2 separate regions of the Homo sapiens genome follow, and region 2 is linked to region 1. The links are contacts of gene promoters, found by promoter capture Hi-C in blood cells and fetal thymus (Javierre and others, 2016). All regions are on one chromosome and are shown on one strand. Each heading gives the region's core, a stretch centred on a gene start or on the middle of the fragment in contact. The rest is flanking DNA. Distances are from core to core; before and after follow the strand shown.

Region 1 (6,906 bases), core at 1,883-4,382:
CCCAACCATATTTTTATTTTAGGGATTTTTAAAATGGAATTAACAGGCTGATTCTAAAACAGATGGAAATACAAAGCACCAAGAATAGTCAATACATTATTAATGAAGGACAAGGTGGGTGAATTGATGAAGATATTAAGGATTGTATTAAAGCTATTGTAATTTGGCTTTGGAACTGGCATTAGTAGGTATAGTATGGGCAGTATAGACTATATGGAATGAAATAGAATAGAAACCTGGAACGAGACCCACACATATATGAACACTGGACCTACACCAAAGGCAATGCGGGAAAAGGAAAGTCTTTTCATTTATTGGTACAGGGAATATTGGGTATTCATTTGGAAAACAAATAAAATTTTGACATCTATATCACAGCATTCCAAAAACAAAAAAACTAACTCCATGTTGATCATAGACCTAAAAATGAAAGGTAAATTATAACTATTTTAGAAGTCAACATGGAAGAATATCCTCATGACCTCAAGATTATACAAAAAAAGTGATAAAACATGACATGAAAAACTCTAACCACAAGGGAAAAGAATGTATTAAATGAAGAATATTCTTTCATCAAAAGACACCACTAGGAAAGCAAAAAGGCAAGCCACAGAGTGAATGAAATGTTATTTGTGACATATCTAAGTACTAAAGTTCATATGCAATGGGACTCAAAAAAGGAAAAAAAAATTCCCACCCTCCCCCCCCAAAAATTAACACTACCTATACAGAAGAAGAAAAAGAAGTTGTGAATGAACAGGTAAAAATGTGCTCAACTTCACTGATAATCAAAGGACTGCAAATTAAAAGAACACTGAAATATAAAGCACATCTACCAGACTGGCAAAAATTAAAAATTCTTGGCAATACATACATTGGTGAGGATACAGCAGAAGACAAATTTTACACATTGTGTTAAGTAAAAGCTAATGCACTACTTTGGAATGTAACTTTCGTTTATTCAGAAAGGTTAAAAATATGCATAAACATGGCTGGGCGCAGTCACTCACATCTGTAATTCCAGCACTTTGGGAGGCTGAGGCGGGTGGACCACTTGAGGCCGAGTTCAAGACCAGCCTAGTCAACATGGTGAAACCCCATCTCTACTGAAAAAATACAAAAATTAGCTAGGCGTGGTAGCAGGCACCTGTAATCCCAGCTACTCGGGAGGCTGAGGCAGGAGAATCAGTTGAACCTGGGAGGCAGAGGTTGCAGTGAGCCGAGATTGCACCATTGCACTCCAGCCTGGGTGACAGAGTGAGACTCCATCTCAAAAAAACCCAAAAAACAAAAAACAAACAAAAAAGCATAAACAGCATATGAAACCTAGAGATACTCATACATATGTACATGACATTGTATACACAAGAGTGTTTATGGCAACACCATTATTCATGATATTAAAAATTTGGAAACACCCCAAATGTCCATCAACAGCACAATGGACAAATAATAAATGACGATAAAAATGAATGAACTGGAAAAACATGCAACAACACAAATGGATCTTAAGAGATATAATATTGAGAAAAAGAAGCAAGTTGTAAAAAAATAAACAGTATAAGTTCATTTATAGGAAAGTTCAAAAAAGTCAACACTAAACTATTTTAGGGATGCATCTATCATGGTACAATTATACATAAAAGCAAAGAAAGTTGGTATGGCAGTTACCTCTACGAAGGAGGGGTGATTAACAGGGGGCACGTTAGACTTCTGGGATTCTGGCAATATTCTCTCTCTGCACCTAAATGGTAGTTACATGGATACTTGCTTTACAGTAACTTATTATACTGTTCATTTGTGTTATAGTTCATAATTTTTAAAAGATTTTTTAACAATGATACATATTGATACTGAGGAATTGATACATATTCTCTACATATTGATATTGAAGAATTCTCAAGCTATATGTTGTAAAGTGAGAAATATGATGTGGAAAAAGTTTTTAAATGTATGTTTAAAAAGAAAGGAAGGAAGGGAATGAGAGAGTGAGAGAAAGAGAGAGAGAAAAGGAGAGAGAGGAAGAACAAGAAAGACATAATCAACGTGTAGAAGAATACGGTAACCCACACACCAAAACAGTTGTTGTCTTTGGGCAGGAGGAATAGGTGGCCAAGGGTCAAGGTTAGCAGGATTACTATTCACCGTGTACTCTTTTGTGTCTTTAATTTCATGCCATGTTAATGTATTACCTATTCAAAATAAATAAAATACCTAATCATGCTTATCCACAAGGGGTCACTATTGAATGCCATTTAACTCTAGTTCCTAACCAGGGAAAAAAACGTTCTGAATTCTTTATGTGCTTAACAGGAAGTGAAGAAACAACTTCATTTATGTTCTTATTTTACATTACACCACATCATGTTCCAGAAAACAATTGCCATTCGCAAATCATGCACAAAAGTATAACATTTAAAACGGAGTGAAAAAGACAAAAAAGTGAATAGATAATATGAAGTCGGGAATGAGTTTACAGAAGCGTTGTGTCAGTCATCTCCCCTAGTGGTAATTAGACTCTAAATTTTCGATTCTAAAATTAGATTCTAAATTTTCTAGCATCTGGGCTGAAAAAAAAAAGGGGAAGTATGGTCAGTTACACAATTCAAAATGTTGATCGGGAGAATATTAAGACCTTGCAGAGAATTTTCCCTGGTAGAGCCTGTTAAAAACAATCCATGAGGACCCTTTAGATGAAATTTTTGATTGGTCTTAACCACAAAAATGATCCACAGATGAATTATGAAACCATGTCATCTTACTCTCTAAGGGAGGTATAAGATGTTTTTGGACTTCAGATGAGAAGGGCTCCATTCATGGTTAATCATGAATGAAAACGAAACTAAGAATATATGCTGTAGAAAAAGAAGAAGAAAAGCCACAAGACTGCTTAAAAATTTCTGTGTCTTACACAGAAGATAGAAAAAATAGAGTGTCTCCAATTGGATGGATTTTTTAAAAAATTTGGTTATTGTAATGGATTTATTTTTTCTTAGAGCTGAGCTGATTGTACTTTGGCCAACTAATGGGTTAATACTGTCAAGGGAAATTAGCCCTGACTAAACATTGCCGCTGGCTCATGAATGCACTAGGCTTGGGGCAGTATAAAAACTCAGAGAAATCAGTGTGTAGGAGACACAGAAATCAGTGTCACTCAGTGACAGAAGCAACAATAATTGTGAAAAATACTTCAGCAGTTATGGACTCATCTGTCATTCAAAGGAAAAAAGTAGCTGTCATTGGTGGTGGCTTGGTAAGAATTTTCAGATGGATTACTATTGTTGGTGGTATTATATTAACTATTATTACTCGTAATGATTATTATTCGTCACTTCTGCAAATTGTTAATTTTCTTGTGAAAACTCTGATATTTAAATACAGCTATTTTGTTTATTTTTTTAATATTTTTATTTTCATAGATTTAATATAGTATGAGTTTTAATCTGTTCTTTTTCAGGAAAGGTATTTTATAGCCATTAAATACAAAGGTTTCTGTTTTCCCTCATCATTTTGGTTTAGGATTTGTTAAAAAGCAAAAATAATGCAAATTGAATTTGATTTTATCCCCAAATTGGCTATGTTTTTAGGAACAGGAATTAGTCTCAATATTCATTTTAATAAAAACATTTGTTCCGCTTTGTTTAATAACTCAGTTAATGCTGTCTAATGAGAATAAAAGGGTCAAGAAACATGAAGCTAACGTCAAAGTATCATGTTGAATGTTCACTAGTTATATGAGTAATTGGGAATAAGATTTATGTGGTCGCCTGACTTACTTGACTCTTCCAGTGGAGCACCTAAGACAGTGGAGTGAGGTGTTCACCTCTCACTGAGCACGTGACGTAAAGGTGCTGGGGCTTCCCCCATACCTAACAAGACGGAAGGAGAGGTCACTCTCTGCTTTCATAGTTATGGTGCCAAAGGTAGTTCTGTTTAACATGGGTCTGCTCCGATTCAACTTTGCTTTTTCCCATCTCAGCAGAATTTCTGTTTCAGAATACAAACATCCCAGTTAGTCAAGGTTAAATCATTTCCCTATCACCTTTGGTCAAATCATTTGGAGACTTTTCATTAATTATTCATATATCCACTCAACAAAAAATTTATTGAGGGCGTAACACTGTTCTAGGCTGAATATAGATGGTATATTTTATGCCACACATGTATTTATACAGTATATGCTGTCTTTTGTTCTGCCTTCCTTAGTGTCTTTTCCCCAAAGTGCTAGAACAGTTCTTTTAATATTTCTGATTCTAAATTTTCATTTAGAAATGCTATCACATGATGTGTTGGTCACTGGTTGGGACATGTGTCGTCACTGCTTCATACTAGGCTTGTGTCCAATCTGTCCTATCAAAATGTTGCACAAAATGAGAATTCATGTGTTCAACAAAATCTGATTACTATGTACCAATATTGTTTTAGGTAGTAGGGATGCGAGGGTGAGAATTCCAGAGAAGAAAAAGACAAGGAAGAAGAAAACAAATAAGACAATTTCAGTTAAAGAGAAGCACTATGAAAGAAACGAAAACAGGGTAGTGCTGTAGAGAGTATCTTTGGGAGTACCTGTTTAGAATGTGGTCAGGGACAGCTGCTCTGCTGAAGGGACATGTGACCAGAGACCTGAATGATCAGATAGAACTAACTACGTGAAGATCTTGAGAAAGAGCATTTCAGGCAGAGGGAACAGCAGGAAGAGAAACCCTCAGGCAATAATGAGCTGCCCAAGTTCAAGGAGCAGAAAGAAAGGCAGGAACTGCCTGAGGCCAGAGAAGAGTAGCTGATGAGGCCAGAAAAGCTGACAGACCAGATCTTGTAGGATCTTAGAGGTCCAGGCAAGAAGATCAGATTTTGTTCAAATTACAATGGGAAACTATTGGAGGATTTTAGGCAGGAAATTAAGTTGTGATTTTAAAAGGTCCCTTGGACCATTATGTGGAGAATGACTAGGAACATTTTAAGATGACAAGATAGACCAGTTAGGAGGCTGTTACGTTAGCTCAAGACTTGGACTAAGGTGGCAGCAGTGATGTCTCATTTTAAAAATTGTCTCTTAGAAATCCAAGGGAGAGATAACAAATATGTGATTGTATATATGGTTTTGGGGGGCATAAAAATGTGGGTGTCATCCATGGATTTCTCCCTGAATAACATGAGATTGTCATCATGTAACCACGTCATACATATGCTGGAAAATAGGAGACAAAAATTACTACTTGCGTATTAGGGAGCAACTAAAATTCCTCTGCAAAAGAATTCTATCCATCCTATTGTTCAAGTCCATGCTTACGCATCATGTTTGATTCCTATTGTCATTTTGTGCAAACGCTTATTCTTCTTTCACTCCATCAGTAAGCCTTGAGGCTCTATATCCAAAATACATTTAAATTCTAGCCATTACAACCATCCTGGCCCAAGCCATTATCATCCGCCATCCTTATTCCTGCAACAAGCTCCAAATTAGTCTCCCAGCTTTAACTCCTTTTCCCTTATAGTCCATACTACACACCACAGCCAGAAACACCCTTCTAAAACATGAGTCTGATCATTATCATCCCCTGCTTAAAATCTTCCAATGATCTCCCATTACAAATAAAATAAAACCCAAACTCTTTACCAAAGGTCTTGTCTGAACTAAGCCTATCTGCCTTTCTGGCTTCACCCCTTTCCCTTTTTATTTGTTAATCTTATCTACCAGTATCGGAAATTACACACTTTGGGTTTTTTTTTTTAACCTGTTTCTTAGATATCTACTCCAACTAGGATATAAACTCTTATTAACCAATGTATTCCAGAGGCTGTAATTATGCCTAACATTATGTATTGGGTGGATGAATAAATGAGAGGAATGAGAAAACTTAATGATATAAAGGTGAAAAAATAATAACAGATGCATGTTTGAATATTGAGAAAATTATTTTTAAAAGTATTGACTAAATAGAGCAATTCAAGAAGGTTAATGTCTTTACATAGAGGACAAGATTACATTTTTGCCCATCTTCTTCTGTTTTTTTTTCCACCCTCCCTTCCTACCTCCTCCTTTCCATAAACCATATCCCAGTACCTTATACTGTCTAACACATTAAAGGCTCTCCCCTGGCCCCTAGAAAAAAAAATGAGAGTTGAGAACCTTTACTTAGACATCCAAAAAATATAGTGAACTTCCCTCAATTCTTATCAGTGGTAGCTTACCATGTCTAGTAAACTTGCCTAATGAAAAGTCACCCTGAGAAGTTATTCTTGCTCTGATGTAGTGATCATCTGATATTGGGTTAAACCAGTTGATTTCCTTTCTTTGAAGACATGTTCAGTCAAAGAGATCAACAAACCAGTAAAAAAACTCCTAATGAGAAACAAAAGGTAAAAGAAACTAAACCATAATCATAAACCAGGTAAAGTTTAAATATTGAAAAACAAGTGGGAAAAGATGTTAAAATAGCATTTCAAGAACATTGACCTAAATATTTAGAAAGACCCCTGTATTGACTGATATTTTCCTCCTTGTGTGAATTACAACTCCCCCATCCCTTCTCCAGCCAATGGGATTACCTCCTGCTAGTTCCAGAAGGTAACTGCAGGACAATCAACCTGTGAAGGCTTCTCCTCTCTTTAAATGCCCACAGGGCTTTGTTTGTCATTATCAAATGCTGCCTTCTATTAAAATTTTGTTATGCATAGTTTATTCCCCATAGAAGCTTTTTACTTCGTAGATCTAAAGATTATTTTATCTTTGGCTCCTGCTACCTTTATAAAGGTTTCCCAGTGCCTTATAATGTGAGCCACACTAAAATATTTTCTGTGCATGAGTTTGATTTCAGAACAAAGTGGAGAATCACTCCTTTAGAAGTTATGGGAAATTTTTAAAGAGTTTTTTTTTTAACACAATTATGTCATGAGGAATGTAGT
Region 2 (6,906 bases), core at 2,652-5,151, 68 kb after region 1:
ATGCCCTTAGGAACCAGAAACATCAGGACCATGTGGGAGCTTGTTAGACATGCAGAATATTGGGCAACCATACATACTGAAGGAGAATATTCATTTATTACAAGATTTCCAGGTGTGGTGTATGCACATTAAAGTTCTAGAAGCACTAATTTATAGCCCATTGGCTGAGAGAAAGAGTGCAACAAATAATTGTTAGTTAATGTATTTTAATTTTGTCTGTTGAGAGGGTGGTCCCTAAAATATCTTAACCTCTGATAGAAAATTAAAGTTATAAACCATCTCACTAGAAAAATTCATATGTGTGCATACTAAAAAATTGTTATAAACAATTTCCAGGGTTTCAGTGGCTCTTCTGAGGCCAACTCAAGGAATGTTTAGGTCCTATGGACTCCAAGTTTAAAATCTCTGGGTTAAAGGAAATAGACCAATTGAAGGCAACAAAACAGGGAAAGAAACACTGTCAGTGAGAGGAGATTAAGGCAGGTGAAAGTGAGTTTATGGAGAGTGTAAGCCAATAATACTCAAAGAGAAGGAAAGGCAAAATAAGAGGCAGAGAGATTTAGCACTGAACATAATAAGGTTATTACAAAAGTGCCCTCTTCTTCCACATTCTTGAGCATTAGAAGTCACAGTGATTATTATTGCCTGTTATTATTATGACCTGTTATCTTTAAAATTCCAATGGAGTAATTAAGCATTATCTTTAACTTTTAAATTCTCTGAAACGTAGAGGCTCAGCTTTATAATAATCATTTTGTGGGCTCTCCTAGCCATGACTCATAGCCATCAAGTCAAAACCTTTCAACTACAGAAACAGATGATAAGGAAGTTCCTCTTCTTTTTGAGACAGGGTCTCGCTCTGTCGCCCAGGCTGGAATGCACTGGTGCGATAGTGGGTCACTGCAGCCTTGACCTCCTGGGCTCAAGAGATCCTTTCATCTCAGGCCCCTGAGTAGCTGCGACTAAGGCACATGCCACCATGCCCAGCTAATTTTTTCTTTTTTTTTTTTGAGAGAGCGGGGCATCTCATTATGTTGCCCAGGTTGGTCTTGAACTCTTAGCTCAAGCAATCCTTCTGCCTCAGCATGCCCAAGTGCTGGGTTTACTGGCTTGAGCCACCACACCAGGCCCAGGAAGTTTCTTGAACCAAATTAATTTAGGCTAGACATTTGCTGTGGCATGTGAATAACAACCCAGGCCAATTGCTACAAGTATCTATAACCCCAAGTGAGGAGTTATAAGCACTGGATTTGGGGATTTGAGCAAACTAGGTTCAAATCCTGGCACCAATACTTCCTGGATTGGGCAAGTTATTTAACTTCTCTGAACTTATTCATAACCCATAAATAAAACAAGGAATAATATTAGTGCCTATTTTGTGGAGTTTTGTAAACTGGCTTGTAACTTGTTTGTGACTTGCTTGTAACTTGCTTGGTACAGTAGGAATTTTAAATGTATTATTAACATTGTAGCTGTTATTACTAGGCATAAACTATTTTCTGATGAATTAAATATTAGTTTTACTAGAATTCTACCTAACAAGTGTGAATCCCTATGGGTAGTTCTTAGAATTGTTATGATTTTCTTTGGAAATATTCTACATTTCTTCCAGATCCCTTTAATTCCTAAAAAATTCTTGTTTTTTTTTTAATTGAAGCGACTCTGAATCACCTCTGTAAAAGTATTACACTGTCATTTCCAACTCTATGCCCAGGGTGAAAACAATCAGTTAATTGCAAAGCTTACCTTTCTGATCATGAAGACATAAATCACTGGATTGTATACAGTGTTCGATTTAGCAAAGAGGTACGAAACAATAGATATTGTTGGAGTGACCAGGTGACCATGACCATTAACCACCAAGAAGCAGATCACGATATAAGGCATCCAACAGACCAGGAAGGTGAATATCATTAAAAAGCACATTTTGGCCAGTTTCTTTTCATATTTTAAAATCTTGATCACTTGAATTGTCTGAAGATCTTCCACACAACGAAGCTGCAGAAAGGAGAAAGAAAGGAAAGGGCTTAAAAAACAAAAGAAGGGTTTCTTTTGTTGTTTTTATAACAGATATTCAGACACCATTCTTGGCCCCACCTAAATGGAAAGAGAACTGAATGGCACCTTGGCAGGCTGACTTCTGATCCAAGACTCATAGCTGAGTCCAGCTTTAACCTTGCCGGGCCTCAGTCTCCCCACTTACAACATAGGGTGGTTGAGCTACAGAGCCTCCTACATCCTTCAGTGTTTTTTTTGACGTTCTCTTATTTACTTAATAAGAATAACATTATTTTGCCTAGATCTTCAAGTCTCTAAAAGACAGCCTGAGAGAGTCACGATAAAATGCAAAGAATTTCCCTGTGATCCTGGAAACTCTATAGAGTGTTAGTCCTCCAGTTCTCAAATCAGACTGCACACCCATGTCATGTCAGGTGTTCTGCATGATTAAGCCTGCAGCTGGCCTTGATGAGCACTTAATTCCCAAGTGAATTCTTACTGAAAACCAGCTTTTCAATTCACTGCTAATGACTGTAAAGTAGAATTTCAGGAGAAATTTGTTTGTGATTGGCTTCATTAGGGGATCACTTGCAGAGAACAGCACTTGGTAAAACAACTCCTTCCTCTAAAACCAGCCTGTCTACTCGCAGTCTGTTCCCATTAAAGGGATGGAGGAGTAATGATGTACAGCCTGAAAGTTCTTTGAGTTTCTTGAATATGTTTCTTTTTGCTGTTTCTCCTATTATTATATATGTGTCATAATAATACACAGGCAAAGAATATTTCTGCACACCAAAAATGTGTTCCTAAATCAAAATAGTTCTCTCTAAACATTGTAATAAGTTATATGAATTATACTACAAAAATACAAATACTCTATATATTGATTTTTTAAGTAGTTAGCATATAGTTAATACTTAGTATTGATTACTTTATGCCTGGAAATTTACTGCATTTCAATGAACTCTAAGTGTACCTTTTGGTTCTAGCATTATCATAAAAATTAAGAGAAAGAATTTCCAAAGAAATCATTTAGAACATGTGCTTAGATTATTTAGAAATATATTTTAATTAAAATTCTCAAATTACTGATATCCAAAATTATATTTAAGAAATTATATTCTTATCAAAATCATGTATTCAGATTAGCAAAGAATAGAGAGAAATAGGAAAAATTTAAATCATTGATTTTTTTAGGGTAGAGAGACTATGTGCAGGGAAAAGTGGGTATTAAATTTCTGGTATTAGTTTGGTGCAAAAGTAATTGTGGTTTTTGCCATTAAAGGTAAACCTTTGAAGGTCACCTTATTTAAAGGTAAATAATATTCCTTTACCACTATGCCAATTACTTTAAAAAATCAATATATAAAGTATTTGTATTTTTGTAGTAAAATTCATATAACTTATTACAATGTTCAGAGATAACTATTTTTATTTAGGAACATATTTTTGGTGTGCAGAAAGGTAAATAATTTACCTTTAAAAAAGGTTACCTTTAAAGGTTTACCTTTAACGGCAAAAACCGCAATTACTTTTGCACCAACCGAATACTACTATTCTGTGTGTGCAATTCTATTTTAAAAGAAACTGTTTTATTTAATGGGATAGAATATTTTTCTATTTTCAAAACATCATTTTGGGGGAGCTTCCCTAGTTTATAGGAAGGCTGTGGGGTTTTGATAAAAGGTCTAGATTTGGAATTAGAAGATCTAAGTTTATATCCCAGATTAACCACTTTTGCTCGCAGTGTGATATTGAGCAAGTCAACAACCTCCTCTAAGAGTAAACAAGAAAGGAGGTAAAGCAAAAAAACCTATGAGAATTAACAGAACTTGAGTTCCATTTCCACACGTATGACTTTGTGGGGTTGTTTTTGAGGTTAAATACTTATTTATATTTGAACTAGATATGAGACTAACACACTTGTATGTATATGTACATTTATGATACTATAGGATATCTGGAATCATTATTGACTCTTCAGAGTTTCAATTAACAAGCAACATAACCACATCTCAGTTATCTGCCTCCCAAACCTCCAGTATTTAGGTCCAATCGTTTTATCTGTACCATTTTCTGGGCAGGTCAGTCTTTATCCCCTCTCGCCATTTATCAAAGGAGAACACTCATTTATCCATCTTGGAATTACATGCATGCTGGGGAAATTAATTTAAATAAATGTTTGTCTATACATCCCCAGTTCCTCTTTGGGATAAGGAGAAGATATTGACTAATGTTTTAGATTATTTGGGTTTATATATGTGAAGTTTTCATGATTATTTTTTATTTATCTTTTTCAGGCCTCTTTCTTTCATTACTTTCTATTCCTTCATTCTGCTCATTAAATATTTTCCAAATAAAAAACTCGATTTCATGTCTTACCCTCTTTATTCAATCATTTGAGGATAGTTTTCAAAATTGCTATGGATGAAGCAATTTTGAAATGATTGGCACAGGCACAAATTTGTCCTAAAGAATGAACCAGCTAAGACAAATTCTTCAGAATTCTCTATCAGATTGTTCTCTGGCTGTATAAATGGCTGGTGCCTAGTGCTCCTTAATCCAAGACATCTGTAGATTTTCAAAGAATTTCACTGTGAATCTTCATTCTCAAGTGTGTAGCTATGTCTCCATCGTTGTTATGAGTCACCTCTCTCTGAATAAGGAAACGGAGGCAAATTACTTGCAGTGAGCTCTCTGTTTAGATAGCAGCTAAAGTCAAATCTCTTCACACTTTCACCCCTTCTCCTGTCTTCCCCTTTCTATGCCCTCTGCTTGTAACTCATTCCAAAAATAGTCACTGATTACCTACTACATGCAGACACTGTTCCAGTCACAGGTGAGAAAATACATAAGACCCAGTCTCTGCTCTTGAGGAATTCACTATTTGGTGAGGATGATGCACACTGAGCGGGTAGAAGCCATGAGGGAGGTAAACAGGGAGGATATGGTAGTACACAGGATGGGAAACTGGTTCTGAGGGTGGGTTAGAGCAAGAAAATCGTGCTGTTAGCCTTGTGAGGGAAGGAGGAATTAGTCAAGTAAGGAGGAGAGACAGAATGTTCCAGAGAAAGAAAGTGTGCTAAGACAAGAGGCAAAATAAAAAGTCAGTTTCTGAAAACAAGAAATATTACCATTGGCCGCATCATGAGGTGGCAAGAAGACAGGAGTGTCAAGAAATGAGGCTGGACAGGTAGACAGGAGATGCCATACAGGACCTGCCGGCCACACCCAGGGGCTTTATTTTGAGTCACAAAGACAGTGGAACTTCTGAAGGTAATACTTGAGAACAACTACTCTGATGGCAGTGTGTAAAGAATGGAATAGAGGAAAGCAAAAATTTTAAAAAGGAGAACTAAGTTTTTTTTTTTTAACTGAGTCTGTGGCAGTGGGAGAGGAAAAAATGGATATACCAAAAAATATAGGGCTAGGAGCAGTGGCTCACACCTGTAATCCTAGCACTTTGGGAGGCCAAGGCGGGCAGATCATGAGGTCAGGAGTTCGAAACCAGCCTGGCCAACATGGTGAAACCCCATCTCTACTAAAAATATTTTAAAAATTAGCCAGGCATGGTGGTGGGCACCTGTAATCCCAGCTACTCAGGAGGCTGAGGCAGGAGAATTGCTTGAACCTGTGAGGCGGAGGTTGCAGTGAGCCGAGATTCTGCCATTGCACTCCAGCCTGGGCAATAAGAGTAAAACTTCGTCTCAAAAAACAAAACAAAACAAAACAAACAAACAAACAGAAACAAAACGAAACAAAAAAACATGTAAGTGGCATGGATAAGAACTGATCAATAGTTGTGTGTTGGGGGAGACATGGATGACACATAGTCAAAGATTACTCCCTAATTTCTGGTCTTGGTATCTAGGAATGATGACTATTCAATGAGAAAGCAAATAGACGAGCAGAAGATTTTAGGGAAAATATGACAAATTAATCTTTATATTTGTTAAATTTGATGAGTCTGTGGACCATCCAAGTGGAGGTGTTCAAGAGGCAATTGACTACGAGGATCTGTTAGAGGCTGGAAGAAAGACCTGAACTGGAAATGGAGATGTTATCAAGCTTGTGTCAGAAGGAGAAATCCTGGCAGTATGAAAGACCACCCAAGGCCAGTGTGTAGCATGGGACAAGAGCTAAACATAGGATGCTGGGGAGGCCCAAAGAAGAGAAGCCCTTGGAAGAGATAAGAAGATGGCGCCAGAGAGTCAGCAACAAAGACAGCAGAGAAAGGCGCCCTAGAATCGATGGCAGGAGACCACCACAAGAAAGTAGAAGTTGGCAATAGTCTCAAACGCTGAGGATGCTAGAAAGGAATAAAAATGTGTCCATGGGATCACATATCTGGGAGCTCATCAATGACCTGAAATGAGGGCTGTATTAGTGGCAGTGCGGTAGAGGAAGGAGTCACAAGTTTGCCTTAAGTTGAGGAATGAATGCTAGATAAACTTACTAAACTACCAACTCCCTGAACTACAACAGAAATGTATTTCTCACAGTTCTGGAGGCTGGGAAGTCCCAGGTAGAGTAGCTGGCAAGGTAGGTATCATTCTGAGGCCTCCTCTCTTGACTGTTATCTCACTGTGTGCTTCCATGTTCTCTTATTTATGCACTCGTGGGAAGACAGAAAGAGAGACAGAGAGAGAGAGATAGAGATAGAGAGAGAGAGAGAAAGAGCAAGCTTTCTGGTGTCTCTTCTTACAAGGACACTAATCCCCTAATCCCATCAGACCAGAGCCCCATCCTCATGACCTCCTCTGACCCTAATTACCTCCCAAGGCCCCATCCCCAAATACTGTCACATCGGTGGTTAGAGATTCCACGTAGGAATCTGAGAGGGACACAAACATTCAGTCTATAACAGCAAGAAATTGGCATATTTGATATGCTCAATAAATATCAGGT

What was found. The method cuts DNA at HindIII sites, captures the fragments that hold promoters and counts their contacts. A CHiCAGO score of 5 or more calls a contact.
Region 2: a contact is called between a fragment that was not itself captured here and the fragment with the promoter of KMO in region 1, in 4 of 17 cell types (monocytes, M0 macrophages, M2 macrophages and 1 more). The highest score is 9.2, in monocytes.

The regions. Positions count from the first base shown.
Region 1 is chr1:241,529,246-241,536,151 of GRCh38, forward strand. KMO (kynurenine 3-monooxygenase) reads left to right here and starts at 3,133. Exons shown (of 15, transcript NM_003679.5): 1 at 3,133-3,253. The coding sequence starts at 3,200. RefSeq lists an enhancer at 2,716-2,865. The HindIII fragment of the contact is 7,761 bases long and covers 1-6,693 here.
Region 2 is chr1:241,596,000-241,602,905 of GRCh38, forward strand. It overlaps OPN3 (opsin 3), which reads right to left. Exons shown (of 4, transcript NM_014322.3): 3 at 1,747-1,998. Among named protein-coding and RNA genes, the nearest start is that of CHML, 41 kb to the right of the region's middle. The HindIII fragment of the contact is 4,325 bases long and covers 1,740-6,064 here.